7 separate regions of the Homo sapiens genome follow, and regions 2, 3, 4, 5, 6 and 7 are each linked to region 1. The links are contacts of gene promoters, found by promoter capture Hi-C in blood cells and fetal thymus (Javierre and others, 2016). All regions are on one chromosome and are shown on one strand. The core of a region is centred on a gene start or on the middle of the fragment in contact, and the rest is flanking DNA. Distances in the headings are between cores, read along the strand shown.

The links. The method cuts DNA at HindIII sites, captures the fragments that hold promoters and counts their contacts. A CHiCAGO score of 5 or more calls a contact.
Region 2: a fragment that was not itself captured here is called in contact with the fragment with the promoter of RRM2 in region 1 in 2 of 17 cell types (total CD8 T cells and naive CD8 T cells); the score reaches 6.5 in total CD8 T cells.
Region 3: a fragment that was not itself captured here is called in contact with the fragment with the promoter of RRM2 in region 1 in 1 of 17 cell types (naive CD8 T cells); the score reaches 6.0 in naive CD8 T cells.
Region 4: a contact is called between a fragment that was not itself captured here and the fragment with the promoter of RRM2 in region 1, in 7 of 17 cell types (endothelial precursors, naive B cells, total CD8 T cells and 4 more). The highest score is 8.9, in endothelial precursors.
Region 5: a fragment that was not itself captured here is called in contact with the fragment with the promoter of RRM2 in region 1 in 17 of 17 cell types (naive B cells, total B cells, non-activated CD4 T cells and 14 more); the score reaches 34.2 in naive B cells.
Region 6: a contact is called between a fragment that was not itself captured here and the fragment with the promoter of RRM2 in region 1, in 3 of 17 cell types (naive B cells, naive CD8 T cells and total B cells). The highest score is 5.7, in naive B cells.
Region 7: a contact is called between a fragment that was not itself captured here and the fragment with the promoter of RRM2 in region 1, in 1 of 17 cell types (fetal thymus). The highest score is 7.2, in fetal thymus.

The regions. Positions count from the first base shown.
Region 1 is chr2:10,121,367-10,124,066 of GRCh38, forward strand. It overlaps RRM2 (ribonucleotide reductase regulatory subunit M2), which reads left to right and starts at 1,373. Exons shown (of 10, transcript NM_001034.4): 1 at 1,373-1,531; 2 at 1,617-1,691; 3 at 2,021-2,164; 4 at 2,370-2,486. The coding sequence starts at 1,433. RefSeq lists enhancers at 1-46, 95-650, 408-477, 498-607 and silencers at 828-1,427, 834-1,334. The HindIII fragment of the contact is 3,317 bases long and covers 5-2,700 here.
Region 2 is chr2:10,537,396-10,540,095 of GRCh38, forward strand. All of the region lies in intron 2 of LOC105373426 (a long non-coding RNA gene), which reads right to left. Among named protein-coding and RNA genes, the nearest start is that of ODC1-DT, 89 kb to the left of the region's middle. RefSeq lists an enhancer at 2,306-2,700. The HindIII fragment of the contact is 3,470 bases long and covers 1-2,700 here.
Region 3 is chr2:10,496,281-10,498,980 of GRCh38, forward strand. No RefSeq gene overlaps it. Among named protein-coding and RNA genes, the nearest start is that of ODC1-DT, 48 kb to the left of the region's middle. RefSeq lists an enhancer at 1,273-1,805. The HindIII fragment of the contact is 4,692 bases long and covers 1-2,700 here.
Region 4 is chr2:10,614,816-10,617,515 of GRCh38, forward strand. The region is part of intron 13 of NOL10 (nucleolar protein 10); the gene reads right to left. Among named protein-coding and RNA genes, the nearest start is that of NOL10, 74 kb to the right of the region's middle. The HindIII fragment of the contact is 5,417 bases long and covers 1-2,700 here.
Region 5 is chr2:10,441,596-10,444,295 of GRCh38, forward strand. ODC1 (ornithine decarboxylase 1) reads right to left here. Exons shown (of 12, transcript NM_002539.3): 5 at 2,500-2,672; 6 at 2,107-2,241; 7 at 1,895-1,976; 8 at 1,635-1,718; 9 at 417-579; 10 at 222-334; 11 at 1-128. Among named protein-coding and RNA genes, the nearest start is that of SNORA80B, 3.9 kb to the right of the region's middle. The HindIII fragment of the contact is 5,104 bases long and covers 1-2,700 here.
Region 6 is chr2:10,515,426-10,518,125 of GRCh38, forward strand. No RefSeq gene overlaps it. Among named protein-coding and RNA genes, the nearest start is that of ODC1-DT, 67 kb to the left of the region's middle. The HindIII fragment of the contact is 1,186 bases long and covers 854-2,039 here.
Region 7 is chr2:10,480,055-10,482,754 of GRCh38, forward strand. No RefSeq gene overlaps it. Among named protein-coding and RNA genes, the nearest start is that of ODC1-DT, 32 kb to the left of the region's middle. The HindIII fragment of the contact is 7,342 bases long and covers 1-2,700 here.

The DNA of each region.
Region 1 (2,700 bases), core at 123-2,622:
TTGAAGCTTTCTCAGGTTAATGATTTCTTTCTTGGATCTTAAAGTTTCTTTCTCTTCCTTTATTTTTGGCATTTTGCCCGTTGCAGGGCCTGGCAAATCAGAAAGCCACATAGAAAATTAAATGAAAGCTATTGCTAAGTTCCAGTCTCTACACCAGTGGAGTTTTCAAACTCCTCTTCAGCATATTTGACGCCCAATGAGTAGTACATTAATTCCTAGTCCTAAAATCATTCTGTGAACTTTCTCCCAGGAATTTTTGCTCAGTTTGCAATTAAAACAACTTTTTTTCTTCTCTTTTTAATGGCAGAGGCGGGGTCTCACTATGTTGCCCAGGATGGTCTCCAGCTCCTGGCCTCAAACAATCCTCCTGCCTTGGCCTCCCAAAGTGCTGGGATTACAGGCGTGAGCCACCGCGCCCAGCCACAGTTTGCAATTCTTAAGGCAAGGGTGACAATAGGGGTCAGGGGTCTGACAGGAGACAGGATTTCTGTGGAAAACTGCACCAAGGGCCTTCTCGCCATGTCCCGTAGTTTGAAGGTTTACAAAGGACTGCACATTTTACATGAGTCATCTCAACGAACGCTCTCCTCACCGCATTAACAGTCCACGCGGTTACGAGTCCCATTTTACTCACGGGGACACCGAATCTGTAAGAAGCCTGGTCGCTTGTCCCAGCAAAACGAGCCACGGGGCTCAGCGGCCCTAACTTTTAGGCTGTAGGGTCCTCGCCGACCACCCCGCCAAAATGTCAGGCCTCGGGGCCCTTGCACCCCCACCGCAGGGACACGGATCGAAAGGGTCGCAGCAACGCCTCCCCCGCACCCAGGAGCGTTTTCCAGGCCTTTGCACCAACCTCGTTGGCTAAGCCCCCTGCCCGGCGGCGGCCCGGCTGGGAGGAGGTGCTTTCGGGAGGCGGGGCCGCGGCCCGGGGATCCTCTCGCGCCCGCGGGCTCCAATCGCTGCTCCTCACGCAATCCTAAACGGTTCCCGGGCGAACCGGGGCCCGCGCGCGCCAAGGCCGCCGAGACCCTCAGGGGCTGCGGCCCTGGTCCCGCGGGACCTGTGGGGGCCTGGGCGGCGGCGCCCCCGACCCAGCCAGCGGACGGGCCGGGGGGGGAACCGGGAGGTCCCGGGGGGCGTCCACGGGGGTGTCCCCGGGGGTCTCCGGAAGGCGCCGGCGGAGGCTCCCGCGCTGCGCTTGAAAATCGCGCGCGGCCCCGCGGCCAGCCTGGGTAGGGGCAAGGCGCAGCCAATGGGAAGGGTCGGAGGCATGGCACAGCCAATGGGAAGGGCCGGGGCACCAAAGCCAATGGGAAGGGCCGGGAGCGCGCGGCGCGGGAGATTTAAAGGCTGCTGGAGTGAGGGGTCGCCCGTGCACCCTGTCCCAGCCGTCCTGTCCTGGCTGCTCGCTCTGCTTCGCTGCGCCTCCACTATGCTCTCCCTCCGTGTCCCGCTCGCGCCCATCACGGACCCGCAGCAGCTGCAGCTCTCGCCGCTGAAGGGGCTCAGCTTGGTCGACAAGGAGAACACGGTGAGCCCGCGGGGAGGGCGCTGCGGGCAGGGGAGGGAGGCAGGGAAAGCGAAGCCGCTCCTCACTCACACGCGTCTCCCCGCAGCCGCCGGCCCTGAGCGGGACCCGCGTCCTGGCCAGCAAGACCGCGAGGAGGATCTTCCAGGAGCCCACGGAGCCGGTGAGTGGCGGGCGTGGGGCAGAGGGGCCAGGGACGGCCTTGGGCGTCTTGGCGCCAAAGCCGCATTGTTTCCTCAGCTGTTCACACTCCCGCCCCGGCTCCTTTCCCGCCTAGGCGGCCCCTCCCCAGGGCTGCCTCCCGCGCCCCTCGGCCCATTTCCCGGTTCGGGCGTGCGCTCCTCTGCTGCGACCCACGGAGTGCGACGGGACAGCCACGTTTTCACATCGGGCCCCGTGAAATTGCCGCCAATGGAAAGGACTTGGTCCAGAAAAACGTTAGTTTCATATGGTTCGCCCGGTACTTAAATGTTTTATTTTCTCCCCCAACAGAAAACTAAAGCAGCTGCCCCCGGCGTGGAGGATGAGCCGCTGCTGAGAGAAAACCCCCGCCGCTTTGTCATCTTCCCCATCGAGTACCATGATATCTGGCAGATGTATAAGAAGGCAGAGGCTTCCTTTTGGACCGCCGAGGAGGTAATCGGAGGACCCCAGAAGACCCCTGCAGGGGTGACCGTCACGCCTCAGACATAAATGCACTTGGAGGTTCCCGTTGGCAAGGGGGGCTAACTGTGGGGCATAGTAAGTGGTGCCAGCATACTTAAAGTTTGAGTGCTCAGTGTGAGTCCTGTAGGCTTTACTCTCTTCCTTTTATGCTAAAATTGTGACTTCCGAACCTCAGGTGGACCTCTCCAAGGACATTCAGCACTGGGAATCCCTGAAACCCGAGGAGAGATATTTTATATCCCATGTTCTGGCTTTCTTTGCAGCAAGCGATGGCATAGTAAATGAAAACTTGGTGAGTTTCCAAAACATCTTTCATTCATTTGACGTTGACGATCTGAGGTCGAACTAGTTCGCTTTCCTCGTCTTGTATGTTTTTCCATGCTGAGTGCATCTGTGTGTGTAAGCTGGGTTTTATATTACATGGCATTTCCTGTTTTGTAACACTTTGCAGTTCTTTCTTATGGTATTTTCCCGACTCTAGAGAAGCTGAGACAATATTAAGTGGT
Region 2 (2,700 bases), core at 56-2,555, 420 kb after region 1:
TTGAACCCAGGAGGCAGAGGTTGTAGTGAGCCAAGATGGCGCCACTGCACTCCAGCCTGGGGGAGAGAGTGAGACTCTGTCTCAAAAAAAAAAAAAAAAAAAGGAGGATCTGGCTTCTAGAATGAAACCCCAGAGTACAAAACCAACACCAGTGGCTTAGGGCTACTGAGATTAAGACTGGTGTGGACATCAGAGCAGCTCAGAGATGGAAGGGCTTTGCTCCCCACCATGGTGCACTAGAGGCCGGTGGCGCCTGGCAGACAGATGCAGGGGGAAGTCGCACATAAAACCTGGGTTATGGTACTCGGTACCAGGAACACTCTCCCTGGACCTTAAACCTCAGCGGAAGGATGTGGGCTTTCTGGTGAGTGCTTTGAGAAACCACCATCTGAGCACACAAAGGGCGCTATGATATTCCAAGTTTCCAGAGCCACACAGAGCCACCTACCCGGTGCTGCGTTTCACAGACAGACGCCTGATTGCCCTTTCTGTTTCCCATGACTGTCGTCTTCTGCACGCATCCTTCCCATGTGGGACCTGGCCTGCTCCCAGAGCAGGTGTTTGCCCCACTGAGCGATGCTGCAGAGCCAGGCCTCGAGCCTGCCCGCCAGCCCCGTCGTCGGCTGTTGGGGTGGCATTTTATATTTGGCATCGATATCCCCTGGGACTTGGATAGAGAGTCGCCTCCTGTCTGACTATTCTTTGGCTATTAAAAACAGAGCTGGGGACCAGGCGCAGTGGCTCACCCCTGTAATCCCAACACTTTGAGAGGCCAAGGCGGGTGGATTGCCTGAGGTCAGGAGTTCAAGATCAGCCTGGCCAACATGGGGAAAACCTGTCTCTGCTAAAAATACAAAAAAATTAGCCGGGCATGGTGGCGGGCGCCTGTAATCCCAGTTACTAGGGAGGCTGAGGCAGGAGAATCACTTGAACCTGAGAGGCGGAGGTTGCAGTGAGCCGAGATCACAACATTGCACTCCAGCCTGGGCAACAAGAGCGAAACTCCGTCTCAAAACAAAAACAATCAAAAAAGAGCTGAGCCAGGCTGAGTGGCTCACGCCTGTAAGCAGCATGTTTGGAGCATGCAGGAGAGCTGGAGCGTGGGGGAATGTGGTTTTTCAGAATGGAGGGTGGCATCATTTCTTCATTCCTCAGGATGGAGTTGGGGCTGCTGTCCCGGTGTGCCCAGGATTATCCTGGTTTTGGCAAGGGCCTAGCATTCAATCTGGTGGCTTCAGCACCCACCACACCTCCTAGAACCCAGTAAGCTCTTGACGCATGTCTGTGGGATGCATGGAAGAATGAGTCACCCTACCTCAAGAAATGTTGATGACTCTGTTTCCTAAGAGAGTAAGATTGACAAATATTTATCACTCAGATTGGTACTAGTCCCTGCTTGGCAGGTAAGTCAGAAGGTTACTTCTGCACACAAAATACAGGGGAGACTGGGTGCATTGCCTCACACTTGTAGTCCCAACATTTTGGGAGGCCAAGGTGGGAGGATTGCTTGAGCCCAGGAGTTTCAGACCAGCCTGAGCAACATGGCAAGACTCCCATTTCTACAAAAAAAAAAAAAAAAAAAAAATTAATTACCCAGGTGTGGTAGCATGTGCTATAGTCCCAGCTACTTGGGAGGCTGAGGCAGGAGGATCACTGAGCCCAGGAGGCGGAGGCTACAGTGAGCCATGATCTTACCACTACACTCTAGCCTAGGTGACAGAGTGAGACCCTGTTAAAAAAGAAAAAATACAGAGGTGCTCTTGCCCATATTTGTCTCTTCTTAGGATCATGAAACATTTGCCCAGTTAGGTGGATTCATTATGGATATATAGATTATATTATCAGATTTTAATCAAAGTAACTGTTCTAAAATGGAGAAGTGCTTCAAAAAAAAACATAGCAAAAAAGAAAAAAAGTCCTAAAATTGAAAATAATCCTAACATACAAGCCCCAGTGAACAACAGGTGTGGTTTAACAAAAATTCTGATCTTTGTCTCCGGCTCCTGACACAGAACTCCTCAAACACTTGGACTCTCTTGAGTGACTGAACTGTCTTCTTTACGCTAATGAATGATGGGTCTTGGGGAAATGGGGCACTGAGACAGTTTCCGGGTGGGGCTGGACACCAGCAAGACCAAGCCTCGGTTGGAACTTTCAGCACCCCACCCCCCACCTCCAGGAAGGAGAGAGGGGCTGGAGAGTGAGTTGTCACTAATGGCCAGTGACTTCCTCTGTCTTGCCTGCATAGTGAAGCCTCCGCTGAAAACCCCTAAGTGATGGGGTTCGAGGAGATTCCAAGTTAGTGAACGCATCCGCACGCCAACAGGGCAGCACGTCCCAGCTCCACCGGGACGCAGGCTGCCATGACTTGGCCCCTTCTGGCACTCTCCATGTGCCTCTTCACTGGACGGCTTGTTTGTATCCTGTATAAACTGGAATGGCAAGGGGAACACTTCCCTTAGTTCAGAGAGGCGTTCTGGCGAATTAGCGAACCTGAGGGTTGGGGGTGGGGACTCCTGAATTCGAAGTCAGCTGGGCAGAAGTGTAGGTCGGCTGAGGACCCCATTTGTGGCTGGGATCTGAATGAGGCTGTCTTGTGGAACTGAGCCCTTCAACTGTGGAGTCTGATGCTAACTCCAGGTAGATAGTGTCAGAATTGAATTAACTTGTTGAACACCAAGTTGGTGTTAGAGAATTGGA
Region 3 (2,700 bases), core at 118-2,617, 370 kb after region 1:
GAGACGAAGTCTTGCTCTCTCCGGCCCAGGCCAGAGTGTAATGGCATGATCTCGGCTCACTGCAAACTCCGCCTCCCAGGTTCAAGCAATTCTCCTGCCTCAGCCTCCTGAGCAGCTGGGATTACAGGCACCTGCCACCACGCCCAGCTAATTTTTGTATTTTTTTTTAGTAGAAACAGGGTTTCACCGTGTTGGCCAGGCCGGTCAAACTCCTGACCTCAGGCAATCCACCTGCCTCGGCCTCCCAAAGTGCTGGGATTATAGGCGTGAGCCACCGCGCCCGACAAAATGAACTTACTAAAGCACGAGTCTGACCGCAAGCCATTCTGTCACCTGTTTGAGCCTCCTGGGGCTCTTTCTCAGCCCCCAAGTGAATGCCTAGCTACATAGGCTGGCATTACTACCACCTGCTACCTGCCACCTGCCACCCACCCACCTTTGTCATCTGCCACCTCTGGCGTCACACGGCACCCTGAGTCCAGAACTTCTCAGGCCGTGTGCAAGTGCCAGGGGGCTCCACTCTGAAATGTCCCTCCTGCCTCTATGCTTGCCTGCCCTGACCTTGGCTTCAGACCATGCAGACACCCTCCCTCTCGGAAGACCCCTCTTTTGAGCTTATCTCCAAAAGAGATGTTATGCATCCCCCTCACATTGAACCGGAAGCATTGTGCAGGGCTGGGCCCCCCCTTGCCCTCAGTTTTGATTTCCCAGCCTGGCAGAGAATAAGTCCTCATTAAGATTGCTGTGAAACCTGCCCCACTTTGGCCAGTGAGTGAGGGCATGTCCAGAGTCAATCGGTCTGCCTCGCAGACACCATGATTTTATTTAACTGTTTTGTTATGGAAATGTCAAACGTACACAACGTAAACAGTAAACACAAACAAAGAGCAAATAGTATAATGAACCCGCATGCTTCCCACCCAGCTTTAATAACCTTCACGCTTTGCCACTTTTGTTTCATCTTTCCCACCAGTAATCCCCCAACCGGTGATCCTCAACTCATTTAGTATGTTTATACTTCAAAGATTATGCTGTTTCTTTCTCTTCTCCATGCTGCCATGTATCATTGCAAAGAGCATTGGCAGTGGCTTTGACCACTAGTAAATGAAAAGAACAGGGCTGGGTGTGGTAGCTCACACCTGTAATCCCAGCACTTTGGGAGGCTGAGGCAGGAGGATCACTTGAACCCGGGAGTTCGAGATCAGCTAGGACAATGTAGTGAGACCCTGTCTCTACTAAATAAGAAAGAAATAAATAAAAACATAGAACAGTCCAACATTACGAAAGCGATTGCACTATTTTATTATTAATTTCTTATTCTGCATCAAGCATGTGGCACTGAGGGCTTCATAAGCATTATCTTAAGACACTGCCAGAAGTAGGTGTCATTATTATTCCCATTTTACAGCAGCTAAAACTGAGGCTCAGACACTAGGAAATGTGTCCAGAGTCTCTGCTAGTAGGTGGCAGAGCTGTTTAACTGCACGGCCCGCAGGTGTCATTTAACCAGTGACGGTCTGAGGCTGATCTTGGGCACCTGGCGCTGGTCGTAGGAGCCCGTGGATGCCGAGCACCCTGGGCCACCTCACTTTGGGAGACGGTGAGGCTGTGCACACCACATTCCCTGCAATGATCCTGCTAAGAACAGGAGCCCAAGGTGCCAGCCGGCCACGGCAAGACAGGGCCCGCCAGCTGTTTGGAAGAGGCGGCAACAATGAGTCACCGCGCACACGGGCCGTGCCGGGGCCGGGCCGGGGCGTTGTCTGGGTGGGTGACAGGCAGCCGGGTGTGTGGGCTGTGATGTAACAGGCCTGCTGCAGCTGCTGGGTGGCAGGCGACTCACTCTCCTCCTCTGTCATGGCTTTGAATCGCCTCTGCTGCGGGAGGGGCATGGAGACAGCACAGCTCCTCCCCCAGCCCACGGCCAAGACAGCCGGCCAGGTCCAGAGGCCCACCAGCCACTCCTCGACCTCCACGCGCAGTCACCTGCCCTTCATCTTCACCTTGGACCTAGGGGGGACGAGTGGGGGGCGCGTGTACTGCAGTGGATGCTCCTGGCATAGAGCTTGGTGTAGAGAGAGAAGGAAATTCAAGACAGACCCAGGTCCCCAGTGCCTGAGGAAGGGCAAATGCAGCAGGAGTTGCTTCTTTTGACCTAAGAAGGAGAAGGAGGTAAAATGAGAAAGTGATCCTTTGTTGAGTACCTATGGGGTCGCAGGTGCAGTGTTAAGTCTCATGACAGCCCAGTAAGATGGGCATCATTCATTCATTCATCCATTCATTCAAATATTTCTAAGCACTTCTGGCCAGGCATGGTGGCTCATGAGTGTAATCCCAGCACTTTGGGAGGCTGAGGTGGGAGAATCACTTGAGGTCAGGAGTTCGGGACCAGCCTGGCCAACATGGTGAAACCTCATCTCTACCAAACATACAAAACTTAACCGGGCGTGGTGGCACATGCTTGTAATCCCAGCTATTCAGGAGGCTGAGGCAGGAGAATCACTTGAATTCCGGAAGCAGAGGTTGCAGTGAGCCGAGATCTTGCCACTGTACTCCAGCCTGGGCAACCAAGAGAGACTCCATCTCAAAACAAGAAAAACAAACAAAAAAACCCCAAATATTTCTGAGCACTTCCTTGGTCCCTCCACTGTTATTATCCTTGTTTTACAGGTAAGGAAACTGAGGCTCAAACAGACCATT
Region 4 (2,700 bases), core at 180-2,679, 490 kb after region 1:
TGACCACTATTATGATTAATGATAATTTTTCTAATTACCTAGCCTGCATCTCCTGTGGGAAAATGGGATTTTGCCAATTAAGAAAACCAACTCTGCATATAAACTCAAAAGAAAATTTTCTTTTCCAGCTTTTCTTCCATTATTGTTGGAAAGGCCTCACTAGGAGCAGCAGCATGTATTTTCAAATTCTGACAGCTGAGGCTTAATAAATGATCATAAACCCAAGAGAACACTGGGTGAGCCAGAGGGAGTGGCCATGACCTTAAGCATGTAATTGCATTTGCAGCATAATGAGCTGCCTAATTGCATATCCAAGTTTACATGCATTTGTGTGAGTAATTATGAGTCATTTAAATGTACTCTACTTGTAGTGTTTTGTTCTTAAAAATCAGATTAGCAAAGAAGCAATTTAATTTCAACATTTTAAAAGATTTATTTTTAAAAAAGAAAAACTATTACCTGCCATGACTTAATATTTGAAAAGATAATTTAGGGACTGAAATGAAATAACAAGAAAAATAAGGCCAAGTTAAAAAAAAATTGTTAAGATTCCTTAAGCCACTATCTCACTAATAGCCCATCAAGCAATAGTCAATTTTTGTGACACTATGAGTAGAGATACACATGACAGAGTGCCTTCAGTCAAGGGCTAGCAGAGACAGGACGCCCCAAGCAAACATTTAAACACCAAATTAAAACTGATGTTAAGAAACACAGAGAGCTTTTGGTTAATAGTGGTACCCCCATCGCTGTCAAGCCTTTTTAAAATGACAGTAAATAACTTTTAAAAGGTATTAACCTTTAAGGACAAAAAGAACTGAAGAAGAAGATGCAGTAATTTAAGAAACTTAACCGGGTAAACATGAGAGCTTACAGAGGTGAACAGCAAAGAGAAAAGATTCCTCTCTCAGAATCCTTGGGACAAGAACTTCAAGGCTCTAAGCATGGGGGACGACAGGATGAGGCACAGGCCCGAATAAAGGGGGAACAATGGAGCTGATGAACACCCAAATCCCCACCATGCCTAAAGAGACCAGAAGATAATTCTCTGGAGGAGGGGAACCAAAGCTGCCCTATGTGCGGGGTGGGTGGGGAGTATGCCACCAGGCACAGGTGACTTGAGCTGTGGGGCTAAAGTCAGGACAATTAATGGCAGTCTAGACATCAAACTGTGGGACCCTCGCCTCCTTTTCCCAGCCCCTGGAATGCCAAAGTCAAGCCTATGCTGCTGTGCGTCCACTCTACCAGCCCAAACCCCTAACACCTCAGAACAAAACTGGGGGATTCTTCTCTGGAGTAAATGAAAGGTCCCAGAAGACAGACTTTAAGATATTGATATCTGGGTAGAGTCATTAGCTGAAGGGTCCACATGAAAACTACCAGTGGACAACACCACCCTGCATTTTTTTTTTTTTTTTTTTTTTTTTTTTTGAGGCAGAGTCTTGCTCTGTCACCCAGGTTGGAGTGCAGTGGTGCGATCTCGGCTCACTGCAACCTCTGCCTCCTGGATTCTTGTGCCTCAGCCTGCCAAGTAGCTGGGATTACAGGCGTGTGCCACTACGCCTGGCTAATTTTTGTATTTTTAGTAGAGACGGGGTTTCACCATGTTGGCCAGGCTATTCTCAAATTCCTGGCCTCAGGTGATCCGCCCGCCTTGGCCTCCCAAAGTGCTGGGAGTACAGGCATGAGCCACCGTGTCTGGCCCCAGTTGGCATTTTAGCACCTCATTCTTCATTTTTTTTTGTTTTTTTGAAACAGGGTCTCACTTTATCACCCAGACTAGAGTGCAGTGGTGCGATCTCAGCTCACCGCCACCTCAACCTCCCAGGTTCAAGCAATCCTCCCACCTCAGCCCTTCAAGTAGCTGGGACTACAGGTGTGTGCCACCATGCCCAGCTAATTTTTGTATCTTTTGTAGAGATGTAGTTTCGCCATGTTGCCCAGGCTGGTCTTGAACTCCTGAGCTATAGTGATCCACTGGCCTCGGCCTCCCAAAGTGCTGGGATTACAGGAGTGAGACACCACGTCTGGCCCTCATTCTTAAATAAGAACAGGTTGCCTAAGCTCCCTCCCCATTCACTTATTCAACAAAGAGTTACCTCCCCATTCACTTATTCAACAAAGAGTTACCTCCCCATTCACTTATTCAACAAAGAGGCAGGCACTTTCCCTTCTCTCTAGATACTCAGTGACAAAACACAGAACAATCCCCACCCTCAAGGAGCTTACCTTCCAGAAAGGGGAAACTACAAACAAGGGAGAGGCAGTGGAGAGTATGACAGACAGAGACTGGTGCTGTGGAAACTGAAGGAGAGAAGGCAATGAAGAATAGAGGGGAAGGGGAGATGATGGACAGGGACCCAAGGGGCAGGAGGGAGTGACCCTCAAGACTACCTGACAACTACAAAGGCCTAGAGGTTGGAATTGCTTGGCATGTTTGTGGATCAGTAAAAAGACCAGCCCAGTGTGGCTTGAATAGAGAGAGCAATGGTGAGCAGGGGCATTCATGAGGATCACTCTGGCAGAGGCTGGGCGACTGACTGGTTCCGGGCATTGAAGGAAATCTCTGTTTATTCATTAGCTGACAGTTCGGCAACGAGCAGAGACTTCAGTGGTCACACGTTAGAAAGAAATCAGATTTTATAGAATTAGTCCAGGACAGTCACTAAACAAACAACCACAAACCCTGGGGACCTGGGG
Region 5 (2,700 bases), core at 137-2,636, 320 kb after region 1:
TTTTCAAAGAGCATCCAATCACCCACATGCATTTCAGGCAGGTCACAGCGCTCAACAATCCGATCGAGGCCATCACATGTTGGTCCCCATATGCTGGATGAATAATACTTCTCATCTGGTTTAGGTCTCTATATAAAGAGACGGAGAGAGGAAGTACTACTTAATTACACGTGTTGTGACCAGTCCTCTTAATTGTTTTATACAGTATGCTCAGAAATTACCTTTTGCAGAAGGGGCTTTACATGTGCGTGGTCATAGAGTATGCAATTAAATGATCCATAGACGCCATCATTCACATAATACATAAAGGTCTGCTCACTCGACTCATCTTCGTCTAGAAAGGCAGATCAACAATCTTAATGACTTTTTGCATCAGCTTTCAGTTATACATGAAGTGATTCGTCCTTTATACATACCATCAGAGCCCGTCTGTTCCTTTAATACAATTTTCTTGGCAATGATATTAACTGCAAGCGTGAAAGCTGATGCAACATAGTATCTGCCGGGCTCAGCTATGATTCTCACTCCAGAGTCTGACGGAAAGTATTTGTCCAACGCTGGGTTGATTACGCCGGTGATCTAAGAGAGTGAAACAGAAAAGAAAGAGCAGCCTTCATTGTGGGAAATTCACATGGGGGAGTAACATCACAGGGCCTTGTGACATGACATCATGAGACCAGGCATCAACAGACAGGTTTATCATTAAAGTAACAAAAGCAAAAAAACATCAACATCTCCCTGAAAACCAGGCTACATATCCCAGGTGGCTCGTTTTCATTCCCCTCCAGGCACCCTATCTCCTTTAGGATGTTATGGGTATGATTTTTATCAAAGAACAGTACGCAACTAACTACTACCTAGGAAGGCATCAAGATGTCAAAACATTTTAACAAATACATGCCAACAGGATAAAAATCCTATTCTGCCTACGTCATGATTTTAACAAACCATGTGGATATATTTTATAAATTCAAGCACCAATATAATGGCTTAACTTCCTAAGTGACTAAACATTTCAAGTATTTTAAGGAGAGGAAGCATAGGTCTAGCAAAGCACATTTGGGGTGATGATGTGCTACAGTCAGCATATTCTCTAGGAAGCCCACAGCAACATGCTTTTTCTTTTTTTTTTTTGAGACAGGGTCTCACTCTGTAGCCCAGGCTGAGTGCAGTGGCATGATCATGGCTCACTGCAGCCTCAACCTCCTGGGCTCAAGTGATCCTCCCACCTCAGCCTTCCAAGTAGCTGGGATTACAGGTGCCCGCCACCACACCAGGCTAATTTTAAAATTTTTTTTGTAGAGATGGGGTCTCACTGTGTTGCCCAGGCTGGTCTCAAACTCCTGGGCTCAAGTGATCCTACCACCTTGGCCTCCCCAAGTGCTGGATTACAGGTGTGAGCCATGATTTCCAATGTAACCAATTATCCAAGACTTCTGGGAAAGCTGATTCACACTTTAGAAAACCAAATGGTATCAAGTGTAATGTCAGACAGCACAAAGAAATCACTCAAAATATCACACCAAGACACTTCAGCCCATTGTGGTATTAGTTAAGACACTTAAATTTTGAAATATTCCAAAAAGGAATTTATTAGAACGGCTACTGAGTATTACAGTTTTGTTCTAAATTACCTCTTCAAATTTAAGTTTCACATCCTCAGATCCAGGAAAGCCACCGCCAATATCAAGCAGATACATGCTGAAACCAACCTCAGCCTAGAATCAAGAAAATAAGTCAGCCAGATCCACAGCTAATAACAAAAATGTATGCAGCAGATAGGCTGAAACCCATGTAATACAGAACCAACTGCCATAAAAAGTTAACTCTAGAATTAAGACTAGTTATTGTCAGTTGTGTCCCGCCCTTCCCTAACAGGGTCACGTATACTCACCCCCATGTCAAAAACACAGCGGGCATCAGAGATTGCCTGCACGAAGGTCTCAGGATCGGTACAGCCGCTTCCTACATGGAAGCTGGGGTAAAATAAAGAGACGAGACACTGTGTCTTAGTATTTCTTAAAATAATAGCAAACACTAGGAGAAAGCCTGTAAAACTCAAACTGTTCAATGTCTTGACCTCTAGCTATCCCACCAAAATCTCACCTGACACCAACAACATCGATATTTAGCTCTTTCGCCCGTTCCAAAAGGAGCCTGCTGGTTCTGAGCGTGGCACCGAATTTCACACTGAGACGACAGACTGCTTTGGAATCATCAGTGGCAATCCGCAAAACCAACCTACAAGCAAGGAAAGTGCAGCAAATGTCTCATGATAGATGTTCACTTATAGCCACAATTAAAATAAAAACAATCCTGTTCTAAATACTGTCGCTGATATATTCTGTAGTTTGAGTCCCAGGCTTCATGACTCAATGGGGGTTTCAACTACTTTCTACTAAAGTATAGAAATATAATAATCAGAAATTTAAGTTTGTTTGATAAGAATCCACATATCTTATGCTCCCGATCTTGCCCTCAGATGGGGGAATAACTCACTTTGCTTTGGGATGTGCTCTGGCAACTTTCATCAACTCAACTTCACTATCAAAAGTCATCATCTGGACTCCATTATTAGCAGCATACTTAATTTGAGATACTTGTTTACAAGGATTTGCATAGATAATCCTCTCTGGAGGCACCCCCAGACTCTGCACCAACTGTATTTCAGTCTGAAAAAGAAGAGTGGTGTCATGCTAT
Region 6 (2,700 bases), core at 197-2,696, 390 kb after region 1:
TATGAAATCCCAAGCATGTGGCAATTCTAAGGTAGATATGGAGACTAAGTTACAAGGTAGGGTGGGAAAAAACAATGGATTTATGCCAGACTTTTTGAAAAAAATCTCACCTTGGAGGAATGGGTTTTCCATCATTTGTCCATCCCTCCTATGTTATATATAATAAACAGAAGGAGGTTAAAAATGCGCTGGTACCTCCACCATCATTCTGTTTATGGTACCAACAGACCTAGATCAGGCCAGAAGGAGTGGGCCTCACAGAGCCCATTATTGCACTTATACTTGCTTTGCTCATCCCCTGCAAGAGCTCAGAGCTCCATGTTCCAGGATTGGATGAGTAATATCAGCCCCTTGGACACACCATTGGGTCACCCTGCCAGTAAGAGACAGATTTGTGATAGCCACTCAGTTCGAACATTTTTTTCACTTTTATTTTTATTTTTTGTCCTTGGCATTTGTTGAGCTTCTTTAATGTATGGATTGACATCTTTTGGTTCATTCCAAAAAATTATCAGACATTATCTCTTTAAATAATAATTTTGCCCCCATCTCCCTTGCTTCTCCTTCTGGAATACCCCCTAAATGTATTTAGACCTTCTCACTCTATCCTCCTCTTTTTCATGATTTTCATCTTTCTGTTGTTCTGTGCTATCATTTGGATAATTTTTTCTGACCCATCTTCCAGTTCACTAATTCTCTCTTTGCCTATATCTAATTTCCTATTAAATCCACCTATTAAATTTAAAGTTTCAGTTATTATATTTTTCATTTTTATAAGAAAGATCTATTTGATTTTCGAAAAACCTGCCAAATCAGTTTTTTCATAGTTCTCTGTTTCCTGCAAATATCTTTAAGCTTGTATTGTTTTTTCAACATAACAATTGTATAATTTCTTTCCTATTATTTCATTATATGAAATATTTGGGAGTAGTTTAGCTGTTTGTTTTTTCTGCTTATTCATGCTCATGTTGCCTTATTTCCTTGTGTGCTTCCTTATTTTTCACTAAGTGCTGCTTGCTTTCTTTTCTTTTTTCTTTTTTTTGAGATGGAGTCTCACTCTATCACCAGGCTGAAGTGCAGTGGCGCAATCTTGACTCACTGAAACCTCCGCCTCCTGGGTTCAAGCGATTCTCCTGCCTCAGCCTCCCGAGTAGCTGAAACTACGGGCATGCTCCACTACACCCAGCTAATTTTTGTATTTTTAGTAGAGACGGGGGCTTCACCATGTTGGCCAGGATGGTCTCAATCTCTTGACCTCGTGATCCACCCGCCTCGGCCTCCCGAAATGCTAGGATTACAGGCATAAGCCACCATGGCCAGCCTGCTTACTTTCTTGAGATATTACTTGATGATAATTCTTTGAGATCTCGGATGAATGTGACATCTGCCTGAAAGAATTTGCACTTGCATCTGCCATGCACCTAGGGACACTTCCACTCCAAGATCACCTTCATCTGAATTTGTTCCTGGAAAATTTCTGGGCCATTCAGGGGGTGTGAATTTGGGTACCAGTCTGCACAAGGGTCAGTGTTTGGATACAGCTTCACAGAGATGAGCTTTTCTCCCGCTCTCCTCAGTGCCAAGAAACATTTCCTTGTTATTTCTAAAGGGGGGTTTGAGGGAGAGAATGCAAAAATTTACTTCGGGTTCATGCTAATCCTGGGTGTGTAACCCTTTAGAGTTCTAGCATAATGGGCTAAAGATCTTCTGGTTGGTTCTCAGCCTTACATGGATTCTGGGATTGGGATTCTGATTCTCGGCTTGAAATTCTGACAGGTGAATTTTCTTCTAAGCACAGTGATTAATCTATTGGCAGTGCACTAAATCTTGGAAAATTGTGGAAGGAGACAAGTCTCCTTGAAATGAAACATGACATTCTTCTTGCTACATCAGATATGGTTGGTTCTTGCTCAGGTTAAACAACCTGAAGCCATAAAAACTACAAAACCAACTTTCGAGAATTTTAGCGGTTTTAAATGTACAGGATGAATCAGTTAGGAATGCTTTCCACTACAAGTAGTAGCAATGTGACAAATAGAAGCTTATTTTTCTTACATAACAAGAAGTCTAAAGATAGACAGTTGGTGGTATTGGTTCACCTGCTCAGGAATGCCCTAGCGGGCAGGGGAGGGTCAAAGCTCTTTGCATGTTTCTTATCTGGGATTCTAACGCTTCCTCATGCTTATCGCCTCATAGTTACATAATGGCCACCATAATGTTAGGCATTATGTCCATGTTTAAGACAGGAAAAAGAGGAAAGAGCACCAGTCACATCTGTCCCTTTTATAGGGAGGCCAATGGTTCCCCAAAGGCCTCCCAGCAGACCCCTCACAATGTATCTCATTGTCCAAGACTCAGTCACATGCCTGTTGCCGGCTGTGGGAAGGCTTGAGGAACAGGTGGCAAAATGGAATCAGACTGTCACGGTCAGTTCAGACCATTCGCGGTGCTCCCCTTGGACACTGGACACAGTCAGGAGCATGCTGGAAAGGCAGAGGGGAGACTGGCTGTGGAAAGCAACCCAGAGCCATGAGCTTGGAGCTTGCTGTGCCCACTGCCCACTTTCCAGCAAAGCAGCACAAAGTCAACATACAGAAAAAGCCTGCCTTGTTGGGAGCCTCCAGAAAGTGGGCTTCAAAGTGGAAGGACAGGTTTCCTGACAGAACACACACCACACGTGCACACACACACCACACACAT
Region 7 (2,700 bases), core at 69-2,568, 360 kb after region 1:
TCTGCATTATTATTACATTTGTATTATTATTTTGAGACAGGGTTTCATTCTGTCACTCAGGCTGAAGTGCAGTGGTGTGATCATAGCTCACTGAAACCTTGAACTCCTGGGCTCAAACAATACTCCCACCTCAGCCTCCTGAATAGCTGAGACTATAGGTGCATGCTATCATGCCTGGCTAGTTTTCTTTTCTTTTCTTTTCTTTTCTTTTCTCTTCTCTTCTCTTCTTTTTCCCTCCCTCCCTTCCTTCCTTCCTTCCTCTTTCTCTCTCTTTCCTTCCTTCCTTTCTTCCTTCCCTCCCTCCCTCTCTCTTTCTTTCTCTTTCTCCTTCCTTCCTTTCTCTCTCTTTCTCCCTCTTTTCTTCCTTTCTCCGTTTCTTTCTTTTTCTTTCTCTCTCTCTCCTTCCTTTCTTCCTTCCTTCCTTTCTTCCTCTTTCTTTCTCCCTTTCTTTTCTCTCTCTCTCCTTTCTTTCTCTTTCTTTCTCTTTCCTTCCATCTCTTTCTTTCTTTCTCTCTTTCTTTTCTCTCTTTTTCTCTCCTTCCTTCCTTCCTTTCTTCCTTTCTCTCTCTTTCTCTCTTTCTTTCTCTCTCCTTCCTTCCGTCCTTTCTTTATCTCTTTCTCTTTCTTTCTTTCTCTCTTTATCTCTCTTTCTCTTTCTTTTTTTCTCTTTCTCCTTCTTTCCTTCTCTTTCTTTTTCTACCTTTATTTCTTTCTCTCTTCCTCTCTCTTTCTTTCTTTTTCTCCTTCTCTCTTTCTGTCTTTTCTCTCTCTCTCTCTTTCTTTCTTTTTCTCTCTCTCCTTCCTTCCTTCCTTCTCTCTCTCTTTCCCTCCCTCCACCCTCCCTCCCTCTCTCTCTTTCTCCCTTTCTTTCTTTCTCTCTCTCTCTTTCTCTCTTTCTTTCTTTTGTAGAGACAGGGTCTCACTGTGTTGCCCAGCCTAGTCTCCTAGTCTCTAGTAATCCTCCATGCCTGGCTAATTTATTTTCTTTCTGTCCCTTCCTTCTTTTCTTTCCTTCTTTCTTTGGTTTGTTCATTCTTGAGACAGGGTCTCACTATGTTGCCCAGGCTGGTCTCCTGGCCTCTAGTGATTCTCCCACCTTGGCCTCTTGAAGTGCTGGGATCTTCAGTGGGAACCCCCACACCAGGCCTGCATCTTCATTGGTACTGCTGTTATTCAGCACCAGAAAAGATCTGTGCCTCTTTGAGGAGGGACACATCAGAGGCACATGGCCCTTCACTCTCCAGGGGTCACAGGGGAATCTTGACCACCCTGGGCACGGAAGTCAGGTTGTCAATCATTAGCCCAAATAGGAAGAGGGACAAGGGCTCCTGGGCACAACACACTCATCCCATGCAGTCTTCCCCAGCTCACTGAAGACCTGTGACCTGTGGCCTGAGTTGTTGACTTGCCTGGCCCTTATTGATCTGATGCTTTTGTGCACAGGTGAGCTCCTCCCTTTCCTTCCAGCCCCCCTGTTGGAGGATGAGAGACCACATAGACGCAGACCCCAAACAGGTGAGTGACGCCAAGCCTAGAGCAGCCAAGTTCAGCTCAGCCCAGAAGGAAGATGCCACTGAGCCCAGCTCACATCACTAACACACAGAATCATGAGTGAACATGACAACTGTCGGAAGCCACTGAGTTTTGGGAGTATTTGTAACCTACCAATAGATAACTGGGGCACAGGGCAAGCTCATAGGAACAAAGCCCAGTCATGGAACTGAAGCTGGGGGCTGGGGAGCTGGCGGGGTTACGGAGCCATTCTCTTTGTCTCTCTCCGGGGATGCATGGTGGCTGTCAACAGCACCACTGCCCCTTCTCTTAGGCCACTCTCAGCAATCTTGCTGCCTCAGCCCTAACTCCACGTGGCCATTCAGCGCAAGAGCTCACCATTACCAAATGACTGGCCCTTGGGTCTCCTTGACTGACACGCACCCTGAACCCAGTTGGCCCAGCTCAGCTGCCGTGATGAGCTACCTGATGCCGGTGGGCACTTTGGGCAGGAGGCATTATGGGGAAGCTCTCCAGGAAAGGGCTTGTGCCAGGGCAGGTAGTGGAACACGGTATTCCATCACTCATATGAGGGAGGATGTAAGGATAGGAAACCTGAAGTGCCTTTCTTATACACTCAACACCACTCTTCTGACACCAGATGTGTGAGTTTTTTTTTTCCCACACACCAAGCAATTCTTCAACAGACCCCAACTGGGTTTCTATAATGCCACTCAGTTCTGACACTGTCGCCTGGAGGTAGCGTCGGATCCCACAGGCGAAGGGCTCCGTCCCACAAGGCTGTCCCCTCTTCAGACGCCAATCACAAGCCCTGGTGTATGACTCGTGTTCCTGACTGACTGGCTGTACATTGGGGGTTCCACAGTCCCCCTCCTCAGGTTTGACTAATTTGCTAGGATGGCTCACAGATCTCAGGGAAATGCTTACATTTACTGATTTATTATAAAGGGTGTCACAGGTGATACAGGTGAGCAGCCAGAGGGAAAGGATGCGTGACACACGCCTGTGGGAAGAGGTGTGGAGCTTCCATGCCCTCTGTGGGCACACGCCCCGCCCTCTAACGCCCCCCATGTGTTCAGCAATCCAGAGACTCTCCGAGCCCCAGAGTTCTGGGGTTTTCATGGCAGTTTCAACATAAGCATGATTGATTATTAACCTGGCTTCCAGCTCCTCTCTTTCTCTGGTGAA